2 separate regions of the Homo sapiens genome follow, and region 1 is linked to region 2. The links are contacts of gene promoters, found by promoter capture Hi-C in human tissues and cell types (Jung and others, 2019). All regions are on one chromosome and are shown on one strand. The core of a region is centred on a gene start or on the middle of the fragment in contact, and the rest is flanking DNA. Distances in the headings are between cores, read along the strand shown.

What was found. The method cuts DNA at HindIII sites, captures the fragments that hold promoters and counts their contacts. A contact is called where the count stands out against the background at its distance.
Region 1: a contact is called between a fragment that was not itself captured here and the fragment with the promoter of TFIP11 in region 2, in 2 of the 25 tissues and cell types used here (mesendoderm cells and thymus).

What each region holds. Positions count from the first base shown.
Region 1 is chr22:26,398,764-26,406,010 of GRCh38, forward strand. No RefSeq gene overlaps it. Among named protein-coding and RNA genes, the nearest start is that of ASPHD2, 27 kb to the right of the region's middle. RefSeq lists an enhancer at 6,150-6,666. The HindIII fragment of the contact is 8,682 bases long and covers 1-7,247 here.
Region 2 is chr22:26,507,572-26,514,792 of GRCh38, forward strand. It overlaps TFIP11 (tuftelin interacting protein 11), which reads right to left and starts at 4,902. Exons shown (of 15, transcript NM_012143.4): 1 at 4,823-4,902; 2 at 4,528-4,604; 3 at 3,046-3,131; 4 at 2,493-2,710. The coding sequence starts at 2,701. TFIP11-DT (TFIP11 divergent transcript) reads left to right here and starts at 4,961. Exons shown (of 2, transcript NR_144529.1): 1 at 4,961-5,463; 2 at 5,841-6,997. RefSeq lists enhancers at 4,785-4,964, 5,187-5,724. The HindIII fragment of the contact is 22,947 bases long and covers 1-7,221 here.

The DNA of each region.
Region 1 (7,247 bases), core at 2,233-4,732, 110 kb before region 2:
GTGAAGAAATGACTATCAGCCAATAGAGAAGCCCAAAGCCGGGCCGGTGTCACTGGCAAGCTGGGTCCCTTTAAACCACCAGATGGCATCCTCAGCATGGGATTCTCAAGGAAGGCCTTGAGCATCCTACAGAAACTGAATCACACTTCTGTTTCCTCACAATGGTTATTTTCTTTGGACAAAGATAACTGATGAAATGGATTCTTTCTGGTAAAACAAAATATGATTTGGAGAATTAGCAGGCTGCCCTTCATTCTTGGCAGTAAAAGAAACCAGCATCATTGTTACTCATTCTTGCCCAGGCTGCGTGTTACAGATAAAAAATGGGGTGGCTTTGGACCCAGGGCTCATACAATGCTGCCCCCAACCAGAGAACCACACAAAAGACTTTCAAAGATTCTAACTTGTACTGATGTTCTCTAGAAGGGACTGAGTGGGAAGTATATTACCAGGCACATCACACAGAAAAACTTCCATAAAATCCTCTGTACCCATTTCTGTCCCCAAGAGTCTCACATTCCTGGGAACCTACTTGAATCTCTCTCCTTCCCCAAACTCAGGAATTCTCCCACCCCCTACCCATCTGACTTTCTTCCACGTAGGGTTACCAAATGTACAAAATAAAAATGCAAGACACCCAATTAAATTTGAAAATTAAATAAATCTGTAGTATTAATAATACAGTTCTGACTGTGGGACACCTGACCATGGTCTGGCCAATCAGAGGTTCCATGATTAGTGGAGAGATGGTCACATGAGCCAAGCTGGGCCAATGGGAAAGTGCAATATTTGGGACATATTTATACTTAAAAAAAAAGTGTTGTTTATCTGAAATTCAAATTTAACTGGGATCCTGCATTTTCTCTAGCAACCATACCACCACACCCTTCTTATATAAAAATAATGCATAAGATGAACAAGTTCTGCAATGCTATGTTGTACACTTAAAAATCTGTTCGGGGCCAGGTGCAGTGGTTCACGCCAGTAATCCTAGCACTTTGGGAGGCCAAGGTCGGAGGATTGCTTGAGGTCAGGAGTTTGAGACCTGCCTGGGCAACATGGCAAGACCCTGTCTTCACAAAAAAATTAAAAACTTAGCTTAGTGTGATGGTGCATGCTTGTAGTCCTAGCTACTGGAAAGGCTGAGGCAGCAGGATCCCTTGAGCCCAGGAGTCTGAAGTTACAGTAAGCTATTATCACACCACTGCATTCCAGCCTGGGCGACAAAGCGAGACTCTGTCTAATAAAAAAAAAAAAAAAAATTAATCTGTTAAAAGTTGAGATCTCATGTTAAGTGTTCTTGCCACAACCAATTTTTTAAAAAGAAAGAAAAATAAAATATGCTATTCATAGTGCATAATCAACATAATCCCACTAGCAAGTACAGTATCATACTAAATGAACCATTTGATTTGCAAATTTTCCAACGTCGTGAATCTCACAACTTTTGTGCCAGGTGAAACTGCTTGAGAGGACTTCCTTTACTAATAAAATCTCAGGCTGAATAAATTCATACATAGACACATACAAGCAAGGTCTGCCTTTTCAGTTCCCCATCCACCAACCTGCAGGACCCTCCTTGGTGTCCTTCCTTCTAAGAAGGCAGGGGTAGGGGCAAGTAGATATCCGTAGAGTTTAATATTGGGGGGCCGTTAACAAATACAGTAATTTTTTTTTCCTTTTCACATTTTGTTTCATGGCATGTGAAATATATACATGCTTTAAAATGTCACATGTGGCCGGGCATGGTGGCTCACGCATATAATCCCAACACTTTAAGAGGCTGAGGTGGGCAGATTGCTTGAGGGGGGTCAGGAGTTCGAGACTAGCCTGGCCAACATGGTGAAACCCCATCTCTACTAAAAATACAAAAATTAGCCAGGCATGGTGGTCCATGGCTTTAGTCCCAGCTACTCTGCTCAGGAGGCTGAGGCAGGAGAATCACTTGAACCCGGGAGGAGGAGGTTGCAGTGAGCCGAGATTGCACCACCTGGGCGACAGAAAGAGACTATGTCTCAATTAAAAAAAAAAAAAACAGACAGAAAGAAAAAGGTCACATGCGATTATAGGATTCAAGCAACACACAGGCCTAGTAAGCAAGCTAATAACCTTTCTCAACCCCTGTCGTCCCACATCTTTGAAACATCAATGTTTCCAGTACTCTTTGGTATAGTTCCTTCCACATCATTCTCTTTGCTCATAAGGATACATATAAGAGACTTTGTTTTCCTCAAAAGAAGTTATTATGTGCTTTGCTTCCCCCATGCCCCCGCCCTTGATATATCTATATCTTTATGTGTATCTCTCTCAACATAGATTCAGGGAGAAAGAACATATCTCGAATGGACATCTCTCCAGGTCATTACACAGAGCTCTAAAGCTGAGTTATGGGCCAGAGTGTGCTGCATCCTAATTTATTCCACGGATCCCACAGAAATGCTCAACACCTTGGGTCAGGATTTTTATACAAGGTTGTTTATCACAGCACAGTTTGTTCCATCGAAAGCTAAAAAGACTATGAAGGACAATCAGCAGGAGGGTGTGCTTTTTTGTCTCGAGAGGCTTTACTAGTGGCTCTAGAAGTCATCTTTTCTTATCAGTCTGGACCTGACCTTCAATACTCCAGGATCCCATCTGGAGGAAGATGGCTTCCACCTGGCCCTCCTCTCCAGTGACTATCTGAAGCCTCGCTCTGCTCTGCTTCCCCAGTTTCCCTCCCCATAGTCCTTCCTTCCTTTCTTTCAACTATTTTCTACTGGAGAATTTTCTGAGAGGTTATATAATCAAAAGGATTTCATCAAATGATGAAAGAGCAACCATACACCATGGCCAAACAATTGCATGTCTCTCTAGAAAGACCCTGGTACATTTTGGCCTAGAACTCAACATTTTCCAAAAGAAGGGTCCCTTTTTCACTTCAGGGACTCCATATGTCGGTTATAATGGAAATCCAGGCCCTCTTCTCATGGTAACAGTTCCTCAATTTTTCCTTTGAGGAAAGAGAGAGGGGCTCTGGGGCTACAGGCTTAAGTGGAACTGATCCTCCTTCCTGACACCATGAGGACCTAACCACAGCCTGGGCAATCAAAGATTCCACGGTAGCTCAGAGAAAGTCACGTGGTCCAAACTGGCCAATGGGAAACCGACTGGCTCTTTTGGCAGGAGCTCCCAGGCCTCTAGGAGGTGTGCCTGGATCCATTGGCAGCCATTTTATTGCCGCGCAGGGCAATCATGACTGCAAATGAAAACAAGAGAAAGTAAAACAGAGCCTAGAAAGAGAAAAAGACAGATCCCTGGTGATGTTGTTGGAGTTTCTAGATTCAGCTGGACTGAAAGTGAGACCCACCCACCTCTCACCTTTGTAATCATATGAACCAAACATTCTCTTTGGGATGAAGCCAGTTTGAGTTGGGTTTCTGTCCCTTGAAATTAAAAGAGGTCTTGGTAATAGAACACTATTTGTATTTCAAGTAATTAAGAAAATACATCCTATCGGCCAGGCGTTGTGGCCCCTACCTGTAATCCCAGCACTTTGGAAAGCTAAGGCAGGAGGATCCCTTGAGTTTGGGAGTTTGAGACCAGCCTGGGCAACATAGGGAGACCCCATCTGTATACATAATTTAAAAATTAGCCAAGTGTGGTGGTGTGCACCTGTGGTCTCAGCTGCTTGGGAGGCTGAGGCAGGAGGATCTCCCTAGCCCAGGAGGTCAAGCCTGCAGTGGGCCATGATCATGCCACTGCACTCCAGCCTGGGCCACAGAGCAAGATCTTGTCTCAAAAAAAAAAAAAAAAAGAAAGAAAGAAAATACATCCTGTGTCCCCACCCCACCCCAACTTCACACATACAGAGAGCTATTAAGAATTCAGTCATACTTGCAAAACACCTATACTTCATCTGCAAAGTTATCATATTGATGTAATGTACAAACAGTTTTCCTACTTCTAAAAATAAGTCTGAGATCCGTAAGGATTCAAGACCCACAGGTAAGAATCAAATACTCTATGTTGGTGGCTCATAAGGCATCTTGAACTGCCAGAGAGATATGCCTGGAAGCGGACCTCAGCTAAAGAGGGATGGGGTTGAGGGGTAAATACCCAGCTCCCCCTTTCCTTGGGAGGGACACCTTTGAGGCATGTTCTGCGCCGTCCCCAGAGTTCCCAGGGAGATCGGGGCCTCGGTTGTCCACAGCGCTCAGTAACATGCCTTTTATTGGCTTTCTTCCTTTCCAAGCCTCACTTCTCTGTTCCTTTTCTGGTGCATTCTGGTATCACCTCCAAATGAACCACTTCTAGAGGAATCCATGACTCAGGGTCGGCTTCCAGAGAACCAAACCAGGAAAGCTCTATCCTAACTCAGGAGACTCCCAACAAACCAGAGTCCACCCACATCCTCAGACTAAAAATCCCTGTTCTAAAGGACTCCACACACCAAGCAAGCGGTGCTCACTGCAAAGCCACCTGATATGGTGAGTTAGTGCCTTGTTAAAAAAAGAAACAAATTCCCAAGACCCTGTAGCTCCTTATACCTGATATTCTAATTGTCATCAGTTTGTGAATTTTTGAACTCTTCTAATCCTCGTGTTCCTAGGACACAGGCATGTTGTGCTTTTAGGGGCATGATTTACTGTTCCTTGCCAATTCTGCCCATCCCTCCACTGTGTTAAAAACCCTATGTTTATGTGGAACAGCCTTCTTACTGTTTTAATTCAGCTCCCCGTGATCTCCCTGCCCACAAGAAGAATTCCTGAAGCAGATGCTCCTTCCCTACCCGCTGAGCCTCACTTTCTGTCTCCTGTCCCATTTAGAAGAGCAATAGTGAGCTGGGAGCAGTGGCTCACGCCTGTAATCCCAGCACTTTGGGAGGCCGAGGCAGGTGGATCACCTGAGGTCAGGAGTTTGAGACCAGCCTGGCCAACATGGCAAAAACCCATCTCCACCAAAAATACAAAAAGTTAGCCGAGCGTGGTGGTGGGCGCCTGTAATCCCAGCTATGCGGGAGGCTGAGGCAGGAGAATTACTTTAGCCCAGGAGGCAGAGGTTGCAGTGAGCCAAAATCATACCATTGCACTCCAGCGTGAATGACAAAGTGAGACTCTGTGTCAAAAAAACAAAAAAAAAGATAAAGGAGGAGGAGGAGGAGAGGAGAAAGAAGAGGAGGAAGAAAGAAAGCAGAAGAAGGAGGAGGAGGAGGAAGGAGGAAGGAGGAAGGGTAATAGTGATTGGCCTAATGGCACAGTGAGAGATCTAGGCAGGCAGACCTGGCTCTATCACTTAATACCCCTGGGACTTTGGCCAGAGGTGTCAGTTTCCCAATCTGTAAAATGGATCTATAATAATAATAACTACTCTATATAGTTACTAGTGAGAACAAAGTGAGATAATACAGGTAAAATGTTTAGCACGGTGCCTGGCACATGGAAAATGCTTGAGAAATGGAGGCCTTTGTTGCCACTCAAGTCTAGCAGTCTTAAATATTTGTCGAATGAGTGAATGAAGTCAAGAGAAGGCCAAGCTGTGGGCAGTGCCTTTGGCTAAATCCCAGAGGACCTGAGGTCCTGCCTGTCTTAGCCACTCTCTCCTGATTCTCTGTCTCTTTGTCTTTCTGTCTCTGTCTCTTCTAGTTCCATCCCTGCCTCTCTCTGTGTGTTTTTCTTCTCCTATTCTCTTTTTTTATGGTCTATTTCTCTCTCTCTCTCTGTGTGTGTGTGTGTGTGTGTGTGTGTGTGTGTGTGTGTGTTTCTATGTGGCTCTGTTTTTTTCTCTCTGTCTCTTTTTCTCACTTTCTGTTTCTCTCCTGGTCTCTGTCTGTATCCCACCCCCGCCACATCACCCCCACACCAGCCTCCTCTTGCAGGGACCAAGTTGTCAGGCTGCTCACGTCGTGGGCTGCCTTGAAACCTGCCACGCACATTCTCATAGTTAGATTTCTCCTGCGTCCACCTCTACTTAAAAAAAAAAATATTTTGACATTTGAGATTCAAATAAAAAGACCATAGAATGGCCTCAGGGAATAGCAGTGCCTGGAAAAAACAAACCTCATTCCTAAACTTTGTGATTATTTTTTATTTTCTTTCTGTCTCTGCTGCCTGAAGCAGAATAAACTTTGTGTTTTTGAAAGACACATAGCACGAGGGTATGGGAACCCCTGCAAGCCCTCAGTGGGAGTTGCCCCACAACCAATCCTCCAAGTGAAGTGCTCCCCACTACCCCAGTGCTCACCATGAACACCAAAGTGAGTTGAGCTGGTAACAATTTTGTTTTCTGGAATCTGTCAACATGCGCAGCAGTTGCTTCCTAATCCTGCTGAGCCATTAGCCACAAGTTCCTCTTTTGTTACAATTTAGCTGCGAGCTTCAGAGAGTGACAAGAGTCAGGAGAAGGGAGAGCAGGGTAAGGCTGTGAAAAGATCCTGAAGAGGTGTTAAGAGCTCAGCAGTTGAGCCAGACATCCCTGGGTTCAAGCCTGGCCAGAACACTTAAGGGCTGGCTAACCTTGGGCAGACTGACATCTAACAAGTGTTCGGTAATTGCAATGTGTTTGGCATTGTGATAAGCTCCGTAAAGATGATCTCATTTCATCTTCCCTGCAATCCTGTAAATGACAAACTGGCTGCAGCTCAGAGAGGCTGGCTAACTCATCCAATGTTACGCAGCTTTGAATGTCTACTCTTTGAACAGTCCAATTCCTCGGCCCAATACCTGGAGACTTTGAGTGGGGGGAGTGCTGGTTCCTGGTACTCCCCACCTCACCTCTGAGTGCCCTAACCACCATGGTCACTCCCAGTGGAATTTTCACCCATCATACAGCTGCCTCTGGAAGCTGTGTAACTGCCTTTAGTGCTGGCCCCTCACTGGAGTGGAGTCCATGCAGTCCTACAAATTCAAAGAACCAGAACACCCTGGTTGTCAAGGCAGATGGGTAAGTGAGTGCAGGGCATTTTCAGCAAGCCTTTGGGGGTGGGGTCTGGGGGTCTGTTTCTTGAGCATCCAGAGCTCCAGCCAGTAGCTTCCTAGTGCATGACTGTGGGCCACTGAAGAAGGGGCAGGAAGGTGTGGAGGGTTAACCAGGAAGCTGGGCATGGGCCTGTAGCCTGTAGTCCCAGCTACTTGGGAAGCTGAAGTGGGAGAATCACTTGAGGCTAGGAATGTGAGGGTGAGTGTTCCATGATTAAGTCTGTGAATAGCCACTGCACTCTAGCCTAGGCAACACAGAGACCTCATCTCTTAAAAAAAAAAAAGGGGGGGTGG
Region 2 (7,221 bases), core at 3,652-6,151:
GTGAACTATAATCATGTCACTGCACCCCAGCCTGGGCAAAAGAGTGAGACCTTATCTCCAAAAAAAAAAAAAAAAGAAAAGAAAATTACACTAAAGTCCCCTAAGAAATAAGAAATTAACTCTATAAAATGAAATATATTGATTTAAACTCTGACTGCTTCAAGTACTTACATTAAGCCATTAACCTCAGGTCTTTTTTGTATAAAATAAAATTGATATATTTGTACTGTGTGGTTTAAAAAAGAAAAAATTACAATAAAAAACCCTGGAGCCAGGTACAGCGGCTCATGCCCATAATCTCAGCACTTTGGGAGGCTTGAGGCCAGGAGTTCAAGACCAGCTGGGCCAACATAGCAAAATCCTATCTCTAATAAAAATACAAAAAACTAGCTGAGTGTGGTGGCACACGCCTGTAATCCCACGCCACTCAGGAGGCTGACGCATGAGAAACGCTTGAACCCAGGAGACAGAGGGTGCAGTGAGCTAAGGTCACGCCACTGCACACTCCAGCTTGGGTAATAGAGACTGTGTTTCAAAGAAAAAAAGAAAACCTGGGAATACAGCAAATAAAGGGATGCCTTGTAAAATGACCAACCTAGTAATTCAACACCCTCAGGGCAACAACAGAATTTAGGGAGTTTTTTCCTAAAATTGTAATATAACTTAGTGATTTAGATCCCAAACTCTAGAGTCAGATAGGTCCAGGTTCCAATTCTAGCTTAGCCTCTGCCTAGTTGTATGACCATTAGCCTCAGTCTCTTAATCTGTAAAATGGGGACAATAATGGTACCTTTCTCATAAGGAAAATTAATCCAGGTTTATGAAATAGCCAGGACAAGTAAGCAGCCAAGAGATGTTAGCTATTATTATTATCTTATGATTATGCAATTCTTGTTCCCTGATCTATTTGTCATCCACTTTCAGACTTCCTTGTGGATGAGAAGTTTGGACTAATCTCTATACTCTTTCTCCCCCAGCCTCCTTTGAAAAAGGCACATTCTCAGCTGGGTGTGGTGGCTCACGCCTGTAATCCCAGCACTTTCGGAGGCCGAGGCAGGCGGATGACAAGGTCAAGAGATCCTGGCCAACATGGTGAAACCCCGTCTCTACTAAAAATACAAAAATTAGCTGGGTGTGATGGCACATGCCTGTAGTCCCAGCTACTCGGGAGGCTGAGGCAGGAGAATCACTTGAATCCAGGAGGCAGAGGTTGCAGTGAGCCAAGATTGCACCACTGTACTCCAGCCTGGCGACAGAGCAAGACTTCATCTCAAAAAAAAAAAAAAGAAAAAGAAAAAGGCACACTCTCAATAGGATAGAGCCTAGAGGCCACAGGTGAGGCCATGGAGGAAAAAACCCCCAACCTGGCACACCCTGGTTGAGTGAGGTTCAGCCAGGGCACACATAACCTTGTGCTGGGGAGAAGACGTGCAGCCTGAATCCTCATTGCCCACCACTATCCTAGACCAGTCCTCCACTACCTGTGCAGGGACCACTGGCTTGGCCTCCTCACAGTCTTCCACTGTGGCTCCATGCCTATTGAGCACACCAGCAAAAGGGTCTTCTCAAAACATAACCCAGCCCCACATCACACCCTCTCTATCACACACACTATGCTACCCTTCCCCCTCTCTGCTCCAGCCCCCAAGCCTTTCATATCCTTGTGGATACCGTGATGCTTCCCATCAAGGGCCTTTGCATATTGGGACCTCTTCTACCACCCTAGTTACCTTCTACTGTCAGTCATATCAGCTTAAGGGTCACTTTTCTCCACAGAAATCTTCCTTGACCTCTCAGAATAGATGAAATGCCCTAAAATGTGTTCTCCCTCATGTCCTCATGTCCCTCATGTCCTGCATCACAGTCACAAGTTTGATCGTCTGAGTTGTTAATGCCTATTTCCATCTTCTAATGTCTGGGCTCTAGGAAGGCAAGAATGGGTCTATAGCACAGGCCTAATACATAGCAATCGCTCAATAAACACTGATAATTAAATCAGTGAGGCCAGGCGTGGTGGCTCACGCCTGTAATCCCAGCACTTTGGGAGGCTGAGGTGGGTGGATCACTTGAGGTCAGGAGTTCAAGACCAGCCTGGCCAACATGGCAAAACCCCGTCTCTACTAATAATACAAACATTAGCTGGAGGTGGTGGCGTTTGCTTGTAATCCCACCTACTCGGGAGGCTGAGGCACGGGAATCACTTAAACCTGGAAGGTGGAGGTTGCAGCTAGCCAAGAGCACGTCACTGCACTCCAACCTGGGCAACAAAGTGAAACCGTGTCTCAAAAAAAATAATAATAAATAGAATAAATCAGTGAAAGAGCAGCACTCTAGCCTAAAGAGGAAACCAGACCTCTCGAGATGATGTCACAGCTAACAGTCTCAACAAGGCCAGGTGAGAAGTATACTTATCAGGGTATCTCCTCCACTCCCTGTCCATCTTCCCCCTCTTCCCTAAAGCAAGGTGAAGCAGCCCCCATGCCAGGCAATACCGTTTGCCTCCAAAGCTGGGCCTCTCATCATCCGAGTCTCGCTCTGCCCACACCCCGTAGGTGGCTTCTTCCTTGGTCTGCCAGTGGCGCTGTCGGTTGGGGTTGAACTCATTCTGGAGATCCCAGTCAGTGATCTCAAAGTTCTCCCGCTCGTCATCATCATCATCAATGCGGCCTTCCCCATCCCGGTATAAGTGGGACAATGACATGGCCAGTCACTAAAGGAAGAGACAAAAAGAGCACAGGCCGTAAGTCCTGGGGGCAGCAGTCGAAGGATTCCTTGTGAGTCTCTATTCCTTGCTGCTTTCAGAACTTTCTCCAAATTCAAAGTCCATTAAAGTCAGCATTACTATTCAATAAAAAAGATATTAAAAACCTACTTTTAGATAACAATCAGTACTAAAACAGGTGAACAAAATACTACTCCTAACAGTCTATGATTCTTTAAAAGTACATATCTCCTTGTCCTAGTCAATATCATAAATATCACACATATTCACACATACACAAACCACACAAAAATAACTAAGTAGGTTATTTTGTACATTATTACCTTAGAAAATGAGTAGGTATCTTCTTAGATCCCAGATTCTTTTTTCTATTACTGAGGAAAGAATTATATCTGGATCCTTGGTGGTCCTAGGAGAGTGATTTTTTTTAGAATATGCTTTTTGAAATACATTACTTGATGAAACAAAATTTTCAGTTTTCCTCACAAAACATGAATTTCTTCTGATGAACTGAAAGACTGTAGTAATTATGAACACTATTTTAATAGTCAGATGTCCAGAGATTGATATAGAGAATCTACCTCACAGTAGCTGGGTGACCAGATTCAGTTGTCTTTCTTAAATTGGGATTAACTACCATACCAACCTTAGAGAAGGCTTACAAAGCAAATTCAATGAGTTCAAAATAAGTGCTCAAGAAACGATAGCTTCTACTTTAGTCCCATGATTAGGTTAATCATTGTATTAGTCAGGGTTCTCTAGAGCGACATAACTAATGGAATAGACATACATATATAAAGGGGAGCTTATTAACTATTAACTCACACGATCAAAAGGTCCCACAATAGGCTGTCTGCAGGCTGAGGAGCAAGGAGAGCCAGTCAAGTTCCAAAGCTGAAGAACTTGAAGTCCAATGTTCGAGGGCAGGAAGCATCCAGCACAGGAGAAAGATATAGGCTGGGAGGCTAGGCCAGTCTCTCTTTTCACATTTTTCTGCCTGCTTATATTCTTGCCGTGCTGGCAGCTGATTAGATTATGCCCACACAGATTGAATTGAGGGTGGGTCTGCCTTTCCCCACCCACAGACTCAAATGTTAATCTCCTTTGGCAACACCCACATAGTCACACCCAGGATCAATACTTCGTATCCTTCAATCCAATCAAGTTGACACTCAGTATTTACCATCACAATCATCATTATTATTATGGGACTAGGGAGTAAACTTAGCAAAGTGACTGTAAAATCAGGCAGGCTAAAATCGAAGCCTGAGTTCAAATTCAACTCTATCAGATACCCAGTGTATGAGAATTAAATATGCACGTGAAGCGCCAAGCATGGTGCACTACACAATAATACACTCCATAGGTGACAGCAATTGTGATTCTTGTCTTGCTGAAAGCGGCCTTAAGGCACACGGAGTTCACTACTTCCACAGGCAGTGTCAAACTCTGGTCACCTCTGGCAAAACGTTATCTCTGCCTTCTTCTACTCACTGGTGCACCGGTTGGGTGCAACGGGTCCCAACCTCTTCCAGGAGTGTTTAGGACAGAAGGATTTTCAGAAAAGACGGGGAATCTCAAATACATAAAGTTAAATAATACCACTGCCTGCGTGGGCATAGTAAATGGTAATAAGCCCCGAGTAGTCACAAGTTATGAAGCCTTTATCAGTAGATGCTAGGTACATGCTGGTCGCTTGAGACCGATTATCAACTGTCTGCATCAAGACACTTCTGCAAGGTAGGTACCGTTAGTTTTCATGCTTCAGATAAGAAAAAGGAGGTTCAGAGAAGTTAGTAACTTACCCTAGGTTCCACTGCTCATAGGGCTCAAACTCAGGAGTGCTAGAAGTCAGGCCTCGGGCTTGTCTCTCTCTTGCTGTCTAGGTTTGGTGAAGGAAGCTCAGGTTCTTAAATGAATCCAAGCCCTAAATCCCAGTTGACCCCAAGCAGCACCGCCCCTCTCCGTGCCTCGGCAGAGCTGTCTACGAAATGGATTCCCCTCCCCACACCCCAACGGCTTGGACCGAAGCTCGCCTTCCCTGAGCCTTCGTCCCTACTCTCACTGGCGCTGAGTCCCCTTGTGGCCAGCCGTGCTCACCTGTCCGAGGGTCCAGCGTACCAAATTCAGCTTCACCATCCGCGCGAGAAGACGCCGCTCCTACACCAGAACCCGGAAGCACCGTGGCCGGCGCGCCGGAAATGACGTTAGTCGACAGCGGATGTCCTGCTGGCTGCCAGGGCAGCGTGGGACGCTACGGCGGATATGGCTGCAGAGCGGCCGGCTGGGATCTTAGATAGGAGGGGTGGATTTGCAAGGCCTAGAATAGCTGGGGAGTGGTTTCCCCGCGGAATCGGCCTCCCTGCCGCTCCTGCTTTGTACTGTGACGCTCAGCCTGTGATGACTGGTGTGGAATCCGCTGAGCCACCTTGGCCTAAGGAGACTTTACCACTCTGAGATTGTAAATCTGTAAAATAGAGATGTAGGATTAGCCCATACGGTAGTTGTGGTAAATACTGTGAGACAATAAGGGGCCTGGGACACAGCATTCAAATGGGAATAATGAAGGTCAAGACTGTGATTCCTGTATCTTTGACGCTCTCGGTATAAGCACCGTCGTGGGCACAGGGCAGTGGCCTTTATGCAGGAGTTTAAGAGGGAATGAAGGAATGAATGGGCAAACTCTGGAGTTCCCAAGTATTCTCTCCAGGAGCTGTTTCCATTCTTTTCGTTTCCAGCAGGTTGGTAAATTCATTAATTTATTCATTGATCTAATTAAAATATACTAAGTGCCCCTCACCTGTGCTAGGCCAATGTGATACAATGAGCAGAACAGTCATGGGCCCTCCCTGGGAAGCCCTCACTAGCCCAAGGACTCCTTGTAGACATTTAAGTGTCCACAGGCTCTGGAGTTCCAACCTTGAGTGCAATTTAGCAGCTGTGGACCTTGGGCAAGTCATTACATCTAAGCCTGTTTTCTCTTCTGCAAAATGGTTAAGGATTCAATAAGATAAAACTGTAGGCAATGAAAACCGTACCTGGTAACAGTAGGTGCTGAAGAAGTGTTAGCTATTAATTTTTGCTTAATTTTTCTCTCTCTGCTCTATGTGATGAAAAGATTCAAGAGGCAATTGTTGGAATGTAAAAAGAGCACGGGACTTGGAGTCAAATACTTAAGTCTACCATCAAGTAGTTGTTAAGAATTAAACAACAATTTTTGTGTACCCAGTTAAATGTGGGCTGCTTAGGAATGATGACTGTGTCTTAATGATCTCTGTATTCTTAGTGACATGTAGAATCATTGTGCCTGACACATAGTATGTACTCAGGAAAGAAATGGAAAATGTGGTTTTAGCATTGAAGGCCGGGAGAGAGGGTCTAACAGACTACAAGCCCTGCCAGGAGCAGAGTAAGGGAAACAGAGGAGAAAAGTGTTTTTAGTCTGTGCCTGAATGTATTTACATCTGTTTGTAGCCCAAAAGCCAAAAGCATACATACGCTTGGCTTTTCTGTAGCTATGTTTATGGCTTTACAGCAGATTTTATGGAGCTGCAATTACTTTGATCATGAGGGACTGATGCTAGTGGATTTACTTCACCAAATGGAACTCACTTTGTGGCTTCTGAAGAAGGGACCTTTGTGGACTGTCATGGAGTAGTTAAGAGTGCAGGCTCTGATTTAGTGATCAGAGTCTGCATTGTCAGGAATGGGACAAAGTGAAGTTATGTGGCACTTGATAGGATGCCCTGAGAAGATTGCAACATCACCCCTGTGATATTCCTGCTGAAGATCCATAACCTGGATGTAATCATGAGGATATATCAGACAAACCCACGTAAAGAGACATGCTGTATACAAAACTGTAATCTTAGAAAGTGCCAAGGTCATGAAAATCAAAGATAGACCCTGGAACTGTTCCAAACTGGAGGGGACCAAAGAGGCATGACAACTAAACACAACACATGATTCTGAACTGGATCTTTTTGCTTGAAAGGAAGTTACAGGGACAGTTGGAAAAGTTTAAATGGGGCCTACAATGCCGTGGTAATGATGTGTCCGTGTTAATTTCCTGATTTTCATGGTTGCCTGTTAAGTTACATCAGAGGATGTTCTTGTTTGCTGGAAAGTAAATCAATGTATTTGGCAGGGGATAAGGCATCAAATGGTCACCTTAATTTCAAATTATTACAGGGAAAATGTTTCTCTCTGTACTTAATAACTTTTTTGCAATTTCTTAAAATGAAAGCTCTGGAGTAAAAACTTCAAGGATCCAAATCTCGACTTTGCTACTTCTTAGGTATGGGCCCGAGGGCAGGTTGCTTCACCTCTCTACACCTCAATTTTTCCATCTGTAGATTGGGGATAGTGACAGTACTGATCTAAGAGAGTTGTTTAGAGAAAAACAAAAACAGAAAGTGATAATTAGTGCATGTAAAGCTCCTGGCATGGTAAGAGCTTTCTAAAGGATTGTGGCTATATTCTTATTTATTTATTTATTT